3 separate regions of the Homo sapiens genome follow, and all the other regions are linked to region 2. The links are contacts of gene promoters, found by promoter capture Hi-C in human tissues and cell types (Jung and others, 2019). All regions are on one chromosome and are shown on one strand. The core of a region is centred on a gene start or on the middle of the fragment in contact, and the rest is flanking DNA. Distances in the headings are between cores, read along the strand shown.

What was found. The method cuts DNA at HindIII sites, captures the fragments that hold promoters and counts their contacts. A contact is called where the count stands out against the background at its distance.
Region 1: the fragment with the promoter of LGALS13 here is called in contact with a fragment that was not itself captured in region 2 in 2 of the 25 tissues and cell types used here (mesendoderm cells and thymus).
Region 3: a contact is called between the fragment with the promoter of EID2 here and a fragment that was not itself captured in region 2, in 1 of the 25 tissues and cell types used here (H1 embryonic stem cells).

What each region holds. Positions count from the first base shown.
Region 1 is chr19:39,599,853-39,604,300 of GRCh38, reverse strand. LGALS13 (galectin 13) reads right to left here and starts at 1,777. Exons shown (of 4, transcript NM_013268.3): 1 at 1,718-1,777. The coding sequence starts at 1,732. The HindIII fragment of the contact is 10,640 bases long and covers 1-4,448 here.
Region 2 is chr19:39,782,816-39,787,299 of GRCh38, reverse strand. It overlaps LEUTX (leucine twenty homeobox), which reads right to left. Exons shown (of 3, transcript NM_001382345.1): 2 at 2,622-2,773; 3 at 1,009-1,602. The coding sequence ends at 1,165. Among named protein-coding and RNA genes, the nearest start is that of LEUTX, 6.2 kb to the right of the region's middle. The HindIII fragment of the contact is 5,263 bases long and covers 1-4,484 here.
Region 3 is chr19:39,537,701-39,542,028 of GRCh38, reverse strand. It overlaps EID2 (EP300 interacting inhibitor of differentiation 2), which reads left to right and starts at 1,868. Exons shown (of 1, transcript NM_153232.4): 1 at 1,868-3,322. The coding sequence starts at 1,950. The coding sequence ends at 2,660. RefSeq lists an enhancer at 1,613-2,112 and a silencer at 2,084-2,163. The HindIII fragment of the contact is 2,915 bases long and covers 1-2,124 here.

The sequences.
Region 1 (4,448 bases), core at 528-3,027, 180 kb after region 2:
AGGAATTTCTACTTTGTAGGATGTTCTCCGTAATAGGGAGTTAATACATGTAAAAGTGTTACCCTAATCCCTGTCATGCGTAGGGCCTCTTAGGGTGACCTAACAGGACAGGAGAGTCCTCTTGAAAGACTGACCTGCCTTCATTTTCAACTCTGAAAATTAAAACAAGACTTGTAAATGTAAGAATTTAAACATTCACTCCAGTGAGAAACAACACTTGTTGAAAGGGAGAGGGAAATGATGAAAGAACAGGAAACCCCTGTGTGTGGGATGCACATGCATCACTATCATCAAGGGCCATGGACATCCTTCCAAGAAGGGGCACACACTACTGAGAGCACAGCCCCAGTACTTGCACAAATGAAGCTTGTGGGTCAGGGACATAACTGGAGGGAATGATTGATTTCTATGATGACTACAAGTAGATGAGATGATTTTTCTGTACTTTTGAGATAGGTTCTTGCTCTGTCACCCAGGCTGACATGCAGGGATGCAATCATGGTTCACTGAAACCTCAGACTCCTGGGCTGCAGTGAATCTCACACATCTGCTCCCTCTTGAATAGCTGGGAAGAAAGGTACCTGCCTCTCTGCCAGTCAAATATTTAAAGTTTTTTAAAGAAAGGGTCTCACTCTGATACCCAGACTGGTCTCAAACTTCTGGCCTCGTTATCCTCTCATCTTTGCCTCCAAAATTGGTGGGATTATAGCCATAAGCCAGTGAACCCAGCTGCTTGGTTGATTAATATCCACTGTAAGCTCCTTCTGAACTGAGACTTAACTTGTTCTTTCATGGGTGTAGAACAAGTTTAGTCTCAGTTCAGACAGAGCTTACAGTGGATATTTTGTGTGATTCAGTCTCTGAAATCACGGCCTCTAATGTCCTTCCCTAACAAACCAGTATCTGCACACCCTCCTGTCACACAGTGGGAAGAACTGGATGGGCTAGGGACAGGCAAGCTGAGCCTGGGAGGCAAGAGACAGTGGTCACTCTGTGCAGACCCCACCTGAGGAACCATCACCCCCATAGTCTGCATTCCTCTTCCCCACTCTTACTGGGAAGAGACATCTACTGATCATACATTCTGCTCTCACAAGTGATCTGAAATAAGTCCTTGGTAACTCACAATCCCCAAGATCCCCACCAGTTAAGCCACATGGGATTCACATCAGAGGTGCTGCTGTGTGGGGAGAAACATTCACATGTGAAGAAAGCCACATGCATGATCCCACTTCAACATACAGTCACATCCCAGCACACACACTCACAGTCACACAGAGCCACACCACTCACTGCGTCACACACACCTGCTCACTGTGCACATAACGATGCTCATGCACTGGTCTGGCTGTGCTCACACACATACTCACATCATAGACAGGAAACAAAGCCGACTCACCCCTTTACTCTCCATTCACACACCTGCTCGTCCTGGTGGGTAATCCACCTCCCACTTAAAGTCACATTATCTCCGCAGAGTTTATGCTCATCAGACACCACCTCACACTCACCGAAGGTTACACTGGTCCAGGGTCCACACCGCAATCCCCACAAGCATCTCAGATACCATAGCCTCAGGGTTTCTATTCCACACCTCAATAGCTCTAAGTAAAGCATTCACAGCAAAAATGCTCATATTTTCATCTCATAAAATCTCCCATTTCTTTCTTGGTTTGTGTGACACGAAATTTTTGAAGGCTGTGCCTTTTCAACTCACGGGTAAAGAAGACATTGTTCTCTCCTTCTTGGCGACCTTCAGAATTGAGTCCAGTCTTCTGAGTGAATCTCTGAGTTGCAGCATTTAAATGACCCACTTCAGCCTTGCCCTCGGGCTTCATTCCAGATTCCAAGCTCCTCCCAGCAAGATTTCCTTGCAGCTTTAGACAGGTTTAGTTGTTAGGAAGAAACTCAGTCACAACCATAGCTATTTGCAGGTCTGTATCTGTAATGCAGCAGAAGTGACAGTGGGGGAGTTACCAGGCTGTGGATTGGGTTACCAGGGAAATGCATAGATAAAGATGATGGAGTGAGCGGTAGTGGTTGTAAAGCCCAGCCTTTATGCCTCTCAAGCCTTTTCTCATCTATGCAGAATATACCCAGAAAGTGTACATTTTCCCAATTTGTACAACGGCTGAAAAGAAAAAAGTTGGAGATTTTGGGGAAATACATTAGCCCTAGAAGGTAATGATTCTCTCTGCTTTTGAACGTTCTGGGAGAGCACTGACCTTGATCCTCAGGAGGATCTGTGGAGAGAAGCAGAGAAATTTCTTGCATGAACCTATTCCACACTAGGCTGCTTGGCTCTGCCAGGTAAGGGCCACTCTCACCTGACTGTCACACACCTGGGCTCTAGCTACACCCTCTCCTTTCTCTTGGTGTCCATGTAAATAAAAGTTTCAGAGACACTGTTTCTCCTGCAGATTCTGGGAGGAAGGTGAGATTGTTGTTTTTATTTGATTTTTCTTTCATTTTATTTTAGGTTCGGGGTACATATGCAGATAAAGTCGTGTCATGGGATTTGTGGTGTATATGATTTCTTCACCTGGTTACTAAGTGTAGTACTCAAAAGTTATTTTTTTTCTCCTCTTCCACCTTTCATCCTCCACCCTCAAGGAGGCCCCAGTGTGTGTTGTTTCCCTCTTGATGTCCATGAGCCTCCTCATTTAGTTCACGCTGATAAGTGAGAACATGCAGTATTTGGTTTTCTGTTCCTGCATTAGTTTGCTAAGAATAATGGCCTCCAGTTCCATCCATGTTCCTGCAAAAGACATAATATCATTCTTTTTTAGGACTGCATAGTATTTCATTGTGTACATGTACCACATTTTCTGTAACCGATCTGTCATTGATTGGCATTTGGGTTCATTCTGTGTCTTCGCTATTGTGCATAGTGTTGCAATGAACATTCATGTGCATATGTCTTTATGGCAGAATGATTTCTTTTCTTCTGGGTATACACCCAGTGATGGGATTGCTGGGTTGAATGGTAGATCTATTGTTAGCTCTTTGAGGAATCACCACACTGCTTTCCACAATGGGTGAACTAATTTACACTGTCACCAACAATGTGTGAGTTCTCCCTTTTCTCCACAACCTTGAAGCATCTGTCCTTTTTTGACTTTTTAATAACAGCCATTCTGACTGGTGTGAGATGGTATCTCACTGTGGTTTTGATTTGCATTTCTCTAATGTTCAGTGATATTGAGCTTTTTTATATGTTTTTTGGCCACCTGTATCCTTACTTTTGAAAAGTGTCTGTTCGTGTCCTTTGCTCAACTTTTTTGTTGTTGTTTTAAAACAGGTCTCACTCTGACATTCAGGCTGGAGTGATGTGGCACCATCTTGGCTCACTGTAACCTCTGGCTCCGGGGCTCAGGTGATTTTTCTAAGCTCAGTCTCCTGAGTAGCTGGGACTACAGGTGCATGTCTCCATGCTAGGCTATTTTTTTTTTCTATTTTTAGTAGAGATGGGTTTTTGCCATGTTACCCAGCCTGTTCTCAAATTCCTGGGCTCAAGTGATCCACCAGCCTTGGTTGCCCAAAGCGCTGGGATTACAGGCATGAGCCACTGTGTCAAGCTCTTTACCCACTTTTTTATGGGTTTGTTTGTTTCTTTCTCGTGAAGTTGTTGAAATTTCTTATAAATGCTCGGATATTAGACCTTCTTCAGATACATAGTTTGAGAACATTTTCTCCCATTCCTTAGGCTGTCTGTTTACTCTCTTGATAGTTTCCTTCACTGTACAGAAGCTCTTTAGTTTAATTAGATTCTGTTTGTCAATTTTTGCTTTTCTCCTAATTGCCTTTGACATCTTCATCATGAAATTTTTCTCATGCCTATGTCCCACATGGTATTGTCTAGGTTGTCTTCCAGGATGTTTATAGTTTTGGGTTTAATCTTTTAAGTCTTTAATCTATCTTTTGTATATGGTGTAAAGAAGGGGTCCAGTTTCAATCTTCTGCATATGGCTAGCCAGTTCTCCCAGCACCATTTCTTGAATAGGGAGTCCTTTTTCCATTGCTTGTTTGGTCAGCTTTGTTGAAGACCAGATGGTTGTAGGTTTGTGGCCTTATTTAGGGCTTTCCATTCTGTTCCATTGGTCTGTGTGTCTCTTTTCATACCGATACCATGCTGTTTTGGTTACTGTAGCCTTGTAGTATATTTTGAAGTTGGGTAATTTGATGCCTCCAGTTTTGTTCTTTTCACTTAGAATTGCCCCGGTTATTTGGCATTTTTTTGGTTCCATTTAAATTTTAAAATAATATTTCTTCTAATTCTGTGAAGAATGTCATTCATAGTTTGAGACAAATAGCCTTGCATCTAAATTTCTTTGGGCAGTATGGCTGTCTTAATGATAATTGGTTTTTCTTATCTATGAGCATGGAATGTTTTTCTATTTCTTTGTGTCATCTCTGGTTTCCTTGAGTAGTGTTTTGTAATTCTCATT
Region 2 (4,484 bases), core at 1,074-3,573:
CTGAAGTGCTTGTGTGCCTGCTTAAAACCACCTTTTTCTCTGTGAGCTAGGGAGACTCACATATGCCTAATCCCTTCCATTTCCAGAGCTAGGGGATTTAGGATGCAGTCCCTTGAGTGCAGGTATAAAAGTTGGGGTGCTCAATGTGTGGACAAACTTCTTCCAGGAGGAATTGATAGACCTGGATTTATTGCTGGGCTGAGCTGGGGTGAAGCTTTGGGTGGCACCTAGCTTCTGTTCAGGCTCTTGTAAGTCTGTAGTTTACCTACCTAGTCAACTCCCTGATGCAGGCTCGTTAGGAACTTAACCATCAACTGTTAGGGTGCTATATGTGTGGTTCACTGCTTCTCTCCTGGGGGAGAAGCTGGGAACTGGGGATTCCTTCCTGATTGTATGGCTCAGTGCCCAGGGTGGGTTTAGTGTTTCTGAGTGCTTCAGCTTTTGCTGCCTGTTTGATAAGACATTTTTTTTCTTGTCTTTTCTTCCTTTTCTTTTTTTTTTTTTTTGAGATGGAGTCTTACTCTGTCGCCCAGGCTGGAGTGCAGTGGTGCAATCTTGGCTCACGCAACCTCCGCCTCCCGGGTTCAAGCAATTCTCTTGCCTCAGCCTCCCAAGCAGCTGGGACTACAGGTGCCCACCACCACACCCAGCTAATTTTTTGTATTTTTAGTAGAGACAGCGTTTCACCATGTTAGCCGGGATGGTCTTGATCTCCTGACCTCGTGATCCACCCACCTTGGCCTCCCAAAGTGCTGGAATTACAGGCGTGAGCCACCGCGACTGGCCTGCTAAGACATTTTCTTAGTTGCCTGGTGTGTAGGAGTCTCTCCACTCACTTCTGACTTTCTTCCAGAGAGAACTGATGTAGGCACAGACGTTTATTCAGTCCATCAATCAGGAACCTCCTATGTCACTGTGTTCCTGGCGTCACTTCTCTGAATACAATCTTTAATGCTGAAATTTGGGTGAGGAGGCACTCAAATGGAGTTCAGAAAATGCAGGCAATGATGAAAGGTAGGGGAGTTCCTTTATTGTTTTTTCTACAGAAAAAGATAAATTCCCAGCCCCTGATCTACTTAGACTGGGGTCAAACCATTAAAGATGTGTGGAAATATGTCTCAGTGGGTCAGATCCAGACCTCCCCTAGAAGTGATGTGTAAGAAGTTACACTGAAGATTGGAGCTGGTCATACTCAAGGCATACTGGAAAAAGATATTGATTTAGGCTGCTGGTGTCATCTTCCCCTGGCAAGTCATAGATCTTTACAAATTCATCTATTTCAAAGAGAGTGGAGGCCCAAGGAGGATTTGAAGCCCCCAGACATATCTGTTCAATGTCATATGACTGAGAATCCCAGGATGAAACCCTCGCAGAGGCGCTGGCTCCTCCAGGATTCTTGATACCAGAAGGCTCACGTAGATCATGGTCATTTGCATCAGAGATTCCAGGACTTACTGGACGAATGTTTGCAGTAGTTATGGCTGAGGGAGTCTCCTCCTTCTTCACTGAAGTTGTCTGGTTTGCTGGCCCTAGTGATGGCCGTGTCTGCATTTGCTGCCGCTGCTGCCTCTTCCATTTGGCACGCTGGTTCTTGAACCAGATCTAAGGAGGGAGGAGGGGGGAGGTTAATAATGGATGTTGAGTATAAAGGGGCATCCTCATGTTCCTCAGGAATTCGGTTTTTTGGTGTGAGAGAGAGTCTCACATTTATTGGAACAAGGGAAGCCCTTTCTACTCTCTGCTGTCCTGGGTTTCAAGGGAAAAGTGGGTGTAGGATTGTACTAGCAATGGGTGGAATATGACCTAGATTGTGATGTATTAAATAGAAGGGTGTTTTTATTAGTGGTGTATTTTTTTTTTTTGAGACAAGCTACCACTCTGTCACCCAGCCTGGAGTGCAGTGCTGCAATCATAGCTCGCTGCAGCCTTGAACTCCTGGGCTTAAGCAATCCTCCTATCTCAGTCTCCCAAGTAGCTGGGACTACAGCCATGTGCCTCCATGTCTGGTTAATTTTTAATTTTTGTTTGTAAAGACATGGTCTTGCTATGTTGCCCAGGCTGGTCTTAAACTGGGCTTAAGCGATCCTCCTGCCTCCACCTCCCAAAGTGCTGGGATTACAAGTGTGAGCCACCATTCCTGGTGCCCAGAGAAAGTATTTTAAAGTCAGAGTATGGGGTGAGAGTTTAGCTTGGGTCATCTTTAGGGTTCATCCAGGTGTTCTCCCATGAATACTTTGTGGGAACTTAGTGACAGGCATCTGGATGACTGTGATGGTCCTGATTAAGCAGAACCCATCCTGAATACACAAGAACAGACCCAAATGGGAGTATCTGAGATCCAGCCTCAAAGAGTCCTGTGTAGCATGGTGGGTCTGGAGTTGGAAAGGTCTGGGTTCAAATTCCAACTCTTGTGTTTATAATGCTTGGAAGACAGCTCTTCTATGTGAGCTTTAGTGTTCCTCAATAAAGTGGGTGCTCATGACAATAAAAATATAAAGTGCTTAACATCTGTCCTTACACATAGCAATTGCCAATAAATAGGAACTGTTATAACAATGATCAAAAGTGTGTGTGAAGCTCTGGGTTAGGCGTGCTACCTACAGACACACTTGGGAACAGACCTTTACTACGGATAGATCAAGTTGTAGCTTTGAAGCCAGTTTCCCCATTGTAGCCAAACTTGGGTGCATGGTCTTTTCAAGCAATTCTCTCAATGCTGTGAGTTGTTTGGAGAGAAATCTTGTGCGTGGCCGACGATAACGCCTTGGCCCTTCTGCAGAGGGAACAGATAAAAGGCTTTCATTAAAAAAATTCGGAAGGAAATGAGGAGAGTACTACATCAAGGGAACACCTGTGGGACAAAAGAATCTGAACAACAGCCTTGAGCCCTAGACCGTCCCTCTGACAGAGCCTACACAAATGAGAAGGAACCAGAAAACCAAATCTGGTAATATGACAACACAAGGTTCTTTAACATCCCCAAAAAATCACATTAGTTCATCAGCAATGGATCCAAACCAAGAAGAAATCCGTGATATACCTGAAAAAGAATTCTGAAGGTCAGTTATTAAGCTAATCAAGGAGGCACCAGAGAAAAGTGAAGCCCAATTTAAGGAAATTAAAAAAAAAGATACAAGAAATGAGGGGAGAAATCTTCAGTGAAATAGAGAGCATAAATAAAAAATAATAAAAACTTTAGGAGACAATGGACGCCCTTTTATCCACTAGACCTAAGAAATGAGATAGACAGCAACACAATGACCAAGAACCCAAAAGCAAATGCAATAAAAACAAAGATAAATAGCTAGGACTTTATTAAACTAAAGAGATTTTGCATGGCAAAAGGAACAGCAGAGTTCTAGACAACCCACAGTCTAGAAGAAAATCTTCACAATCTATACATTTGACAAATGACTAATATCCAGAATCTGCAACGAACTCAAACAAATTAGCAAGAAAAAAACCAAACAATTCCATCAAAAAGTGGGCTAAGGACATGAATGACATGAATAGATAATTCTCAAAAGATATACAAATGGCCAACAAACATGAAAAAATGCTCAACATCACAAATGATTAGGGAAATGCAAATCGAAACCACAAGAATGGCCATAATAAAAAAAATAAAAAAAAATAGATGTTGGCGTGGATGCAGTGAACAGGCAACACTTCTACACTGCTGGTGGCAGTGTAAACTAGTACAGCCACTATGGAAAACAGTGTAAAGATTCCTTCAAGAACTATAAGTAGAACTACCATTCGATCCAGCAATCCAACTACTGGCTATCTACCCAGAGGAAAATAAGTCATTATACAAAAAAGATACTTGCACATGTATGTTTATAGCAGTACAATTCGCAATTGTAAAAATGTGGAACCAACCCAAATGTCCATCAATTGAGTGGATAAGCTGTGGTGTGTGTGTGTGTGTGTGTATATATATATATGTATATATATATAATAATTTATGTATAATGTATATAAATTATATTGTATATAATTATATATAATACAAATATTATAATTTATATATATATAATTTATATATATATAAATTATATGATGGAATGCCACTCAGCCATAAAAATGAATTAATGATATTTGTAACAACCTGGATTAGATTGGAGACCATTATTCTAAGTGAAGTAACTCAGGAATGGAAAACCAAACATCATATGTTCACACTCATAAGTGGGAGCTAAGCTATGAGGATGTAAGGGCATAAGAATGACACAATGGACTTTGGGGATTCGGGGGAAAGGGTGGGAAGGGGGTGAGGGATAAAAGACTACAAATATGGTGCAGTGTATGCTGCTCGGTTGGTGGGTGCACCAAAATCTCACAAATCACCACTAAAGAACTTACTCATGTAACCAAACACCACTTGTTCCCCAATAGCCTACGAAAATACAAAAAAAAATTTAAAAATGTTTTATTAGAATGCAAATATGTATATTCCAAAGGTAAGCTTCTTTCCTAAGCTT
Region 3 (4,328 bases), core at 619-3,118, 240 kb after region 2:
GATCCATAAAAGAATGGTAATAAGCCGGGCACAGTGGTTCACGCCTGTAATATCAGCACTTTGGGAGGCCAAAGCCTGGCGGATCATGAGGTCAGGAGTTCGAGACCAGCCTGGCCAATATAATAAAACCCTGTCTCTACTAAAAATACAAAAATTAGCCGGGCATGGTGGCGCGCACCTGTAATCCCAGCTACTCAGGAGGCTGAGGCAGGAGAATCACTGGAACTGGGAGGCAGAGGTTGCAGTGACCCAAGATCACACCACTGTACTTCAGCTTGGGCAACAGAGCGAGACTTCATAAAAAAAATGGTAATGAATATAATAACTATCAAGAAAATAAAGTATTTATAAACCATAATGAAAATGTAGGCTGGAGGCCGAGTGCTCTGGCTCACCCTATAATCCCAGCACTTTGGGAGGCTGAGACAGGCGGGTCGTTTGAGCCCAGGACTTTGAGACCAGCCTGGGCAACATAAGGAGACCCTGTCTCTACAAAAAAATTAAAAATTAACTGGGTGTGGTGGTGTACACCTGTAGTCCCAGGTACTCAGGAGACTGAAGTGGGAGGATTATTTGAGCTCGGAAGGTTGAGGCCACGTTGAGCTGTGATTGTGCCACTGCACTCCAGTCTGGGTAACAGAATGAGATGAAAGAAAGAAGGAATGAAGGAAGGAAGGAAGGAAGGGAGTGAGGGAGGGAGGGAGGAAGAGAAAATGTGAATGGATGAATCTCATAAAAATAATGCACAAAAAAACAGATACAAGTGTGTATGTGAGAAAACATTTTAAATGGTCCATTTCTGAGGCATGATAAATCTAAGTACTGGCAGCCAGCCTGCAAATATAACAAACTGCAGGGCTCATCCACCTAGAAGGTCACAATAAGGGAACAGAATGTAGAGGCGGGGTCAGCCCATAAAAGGGAAGAAAGTGGCCGGCGCAGTGGCTCACGCCTGTAATCCCAGCACTTTGGGAGGCCGAGGCAGGCGGATCACGAGGTCAAGAGATCGAGACCATCCTGGCCAACATGGTGAAACCTCGTCTCTACTAAAAATACAAAAATTACGCAGGTGAGTGTGTTTCTCACATAGATAAAGTTCAGAATACAAACCAAACTAAACTACAGCATTAGGAATGCACCCTTAGGTGGTAAAATGAAAAGAAAAACAAGAAAGTGATTACCATAAGTATCAGCATAGTTGTTACTTCTGCGTAGAAAGGAAAGGATAGTGATAAGAAGAAGAGGAAGGGTTCTGGGATGCTGGAAATATTCCACTTCTTGGACTGTGTGGTAGTTAAACGGATGTTCACTTTGTGATAAATCATTCAGCTGTATATTTATGTTTTGTTTACTTTTCTGCATGTTATATTGCACAAATAAGATTCGAAAAACAAATGTCCAAGGTAGTCAATGCAATGTTAAAGATAACACGAAAAGACTGTAATTACAAAGCTTTGGTAGCTAGGACGATCCGTATGGATGAAGACAGGCAAAGGAATGAATGAAAAACAATTTAAAAATCCAGAAAAGACCATGAATCTAAAATATCTTGATATATAATAGAGGTGGCACATAATCACTGGAGAACAAAGAGAAACACCCTAGGACAGAACCTTGAGAACGCCTACAAGAAGCGATCTTGTAAGCGTTCCTCATAAACATCAAACTGGTTGAAATGTCCCCCGCCCTTCGTCGTTGGGATGTTTCAGATGCGTTGGCGCTTCCCGGCCTCGAGGGGGCATCTGGAGAACGGCGGGCGCCGGGAAAGTACGCATGCGCACTGCTCCCAGGGTTTGCGGTAAGAATCTATGCTCTCGCGCCCGGTTACGCACACTGCATTTACAGCGCGCATAGCGCCCACGCACGCGCACTGGGGTGTCCGCCGGGCATCGCTCTGTCCAGTTATTCCAGTTTCTCTGGGAGCAGCCGAGTTGACCCCACGGTCTGAGATGTCCAAGCTGCCCGCAGACAGCAGTGTCCCGCAGACAGGCGCGGCGAATGGTGACAGAGACGTCCCGCAGGCGGAGGTAGGCCGCGGGAGGCGGGAGCCGGCCCCGGCACAGCCTGAGGAGGCCGGGGAAGGCGCGATGGCGGCGGCCAGGGGAGGCCCGGTGCCGGCGGCCAGGGAAGGTCGGATGGCGGCGGCCAGGGCAGCCCCGGCGGCGGCAGCCAGGGGAGCCCCGGTGGCAGCGGCGGCGTTGGCCAGGGCAGCCGCGGCGGGCAGGGAAAGCCCGGCGGCGGCGGCGGCCAGGGAAGCCCGGATGGCGGAGGTCGCCCGCTTGCTGGGGGAGCCAGTGGACGAAGAGGGTCCCGAGGGCAGGCCCAGGTCCAGACACGGGAACGGAGGCCTGGCTGCGTTGCCCTATCTCCGTCTCCGCCACCCACTTAGCGTTTTAGGCATCAATTACCAGCAGTTTCTCCGCCACTATCTGGAAAATTACCCGATTGCTCCCGGCAGAATACAAGAGCTTGAAGAACGCCGCAGGCGATTCGTGGAAGCCTGCAGAGCAAGGGAAGCAGCGTTTGATGCCGAATATCAGCGAAATCCTCACAGGGTGGACCTCGATATTTTAACCTTTACGATAGCTCTGACTGCCTCTGAAGTTATCAACCCTCTGATAGAAGAACTTGGTTGCGATAAGTTTATCAATAGAGAATAGTTATGTGGTGACACTACTTCAAGAGAACCTCTGCATTCCAGTCATACCAATCCTGCAACTTGATTTTCAGAAGTCAAGAGTATATCGCGATAAGACAGTGCACAGGTGGAGGGGAAAAAAAGGGGGAGGGGGAAGCTTATCTTGAAAAAGCATCACAGAAGTAGAAAAAAATGTCGAAAGCATTATAACTGTAACGTTCTTTGAGTTTGTGATTGATCCACATTTTTCCCCCTGCATTATGGAAAATGTCTCTCAGCATTGCTTTATTACAAAGTAAAGGATGGTTTTATAAAATTGAGACTGATGAAACATCAATACTAGAGCCCATGAGGATGAAAGAAATTATCAAATAGTGCTGAACAGAATAAGATGTTAACGCTGAGTTATTAGGACTGGAAGGCTATGAAAAGAACTTGAAATTGTCGGAATATGTGCTCTCTTCATGTCATATTCAATAGAAGTTTCTAGTTTAAGATTGATTTTGTGTTTTCTTAGGCATTTCAAGTGACAAGCAAAGTAAATGTATATATTATGTGATAAATCATGTTTTCAAGAACGTCAAATTTCTGGACTTTTTTCTTTCAATTTTTAATTTTTAAAGTTTTTTTGGTATTAAAAAATCTATTCACAAGCCAAAAAATATATAAAATATACAGCGAAAAGCCTTCCATTCTTGTTTTCCTCCATCCAGTACCAACGATGACCTCTAATAGCCACAGTTTCCTTTCCGTCCTTCTAGTTTCCTTACGTGTACACAGGCACATATAAATCTGGGTTTACTTGTTTTATTTCTTCACAGAAGTCGGCATATTATATTTACTGGTTTATACATTGCTTTCTCATTAAGAACATATGTTGACCCTTCCAAACCACTGTATTTCCTCATTATTTTTTAAAGTGGCATTTTATTCCATTCTGAGGTTATGTCCAAATTTACTTAACCAGGGATATATTGACGGACATTTAGGTTGTTTCCCATCTCTTTCTTTGGGCAGAATAAAAAATTGCTAGAGTAGTTCATCTTGTACAATTGCTAGAGTAGTTCATCTTGTATATCATGTGGCATGTGCACAAATATAGTATTGCTTCAATTCAAAATTCACTTCATATTTGAACATCTCTGAAATGTGGGTGCATCTTATATTTGATGCTGTAATAGATCATTTTTTCCTTGGGTTTTCACGAAACTAGTGATTTTTTTTTTTTAAGAGGGAGTCTCACTCTGTCGCCAGGCTGGAGTGCAGTGGCGCAATCTCGGCTCACTGCAACCTCCGCCTCCCAGGTTCAAGTGATTCTCCTGCCTCAGCCTCCTGAGTAGCTGGGACTGCAGGCGCCCACCACAACACCTGGTCAATTTTTGTATTTTTAGTAGAGACGGGGTTTCACCATGTTGGCCAGGATGGTCTTGATCTCTTGACCTTGTGATCTGCCCACCTTGGCCTCCCAAAGTGCTGGGATTACAGGTGTGAGCCACCGCGCCCAGCCCTAATGATGTGTCTCATGATCAATAGCTACCTAGATTCCTTTTTACATGTAATATCTGTAGGCTGATGCCCCAGAAATGAGAATTCTGGGCCAAAGTTACTCCTTTGAGATTTTATGAATATTGCTATGCAGCATTCTATATGTGTCCTGCTTTGCACTCCCACCAGCAATTAATGATCATAG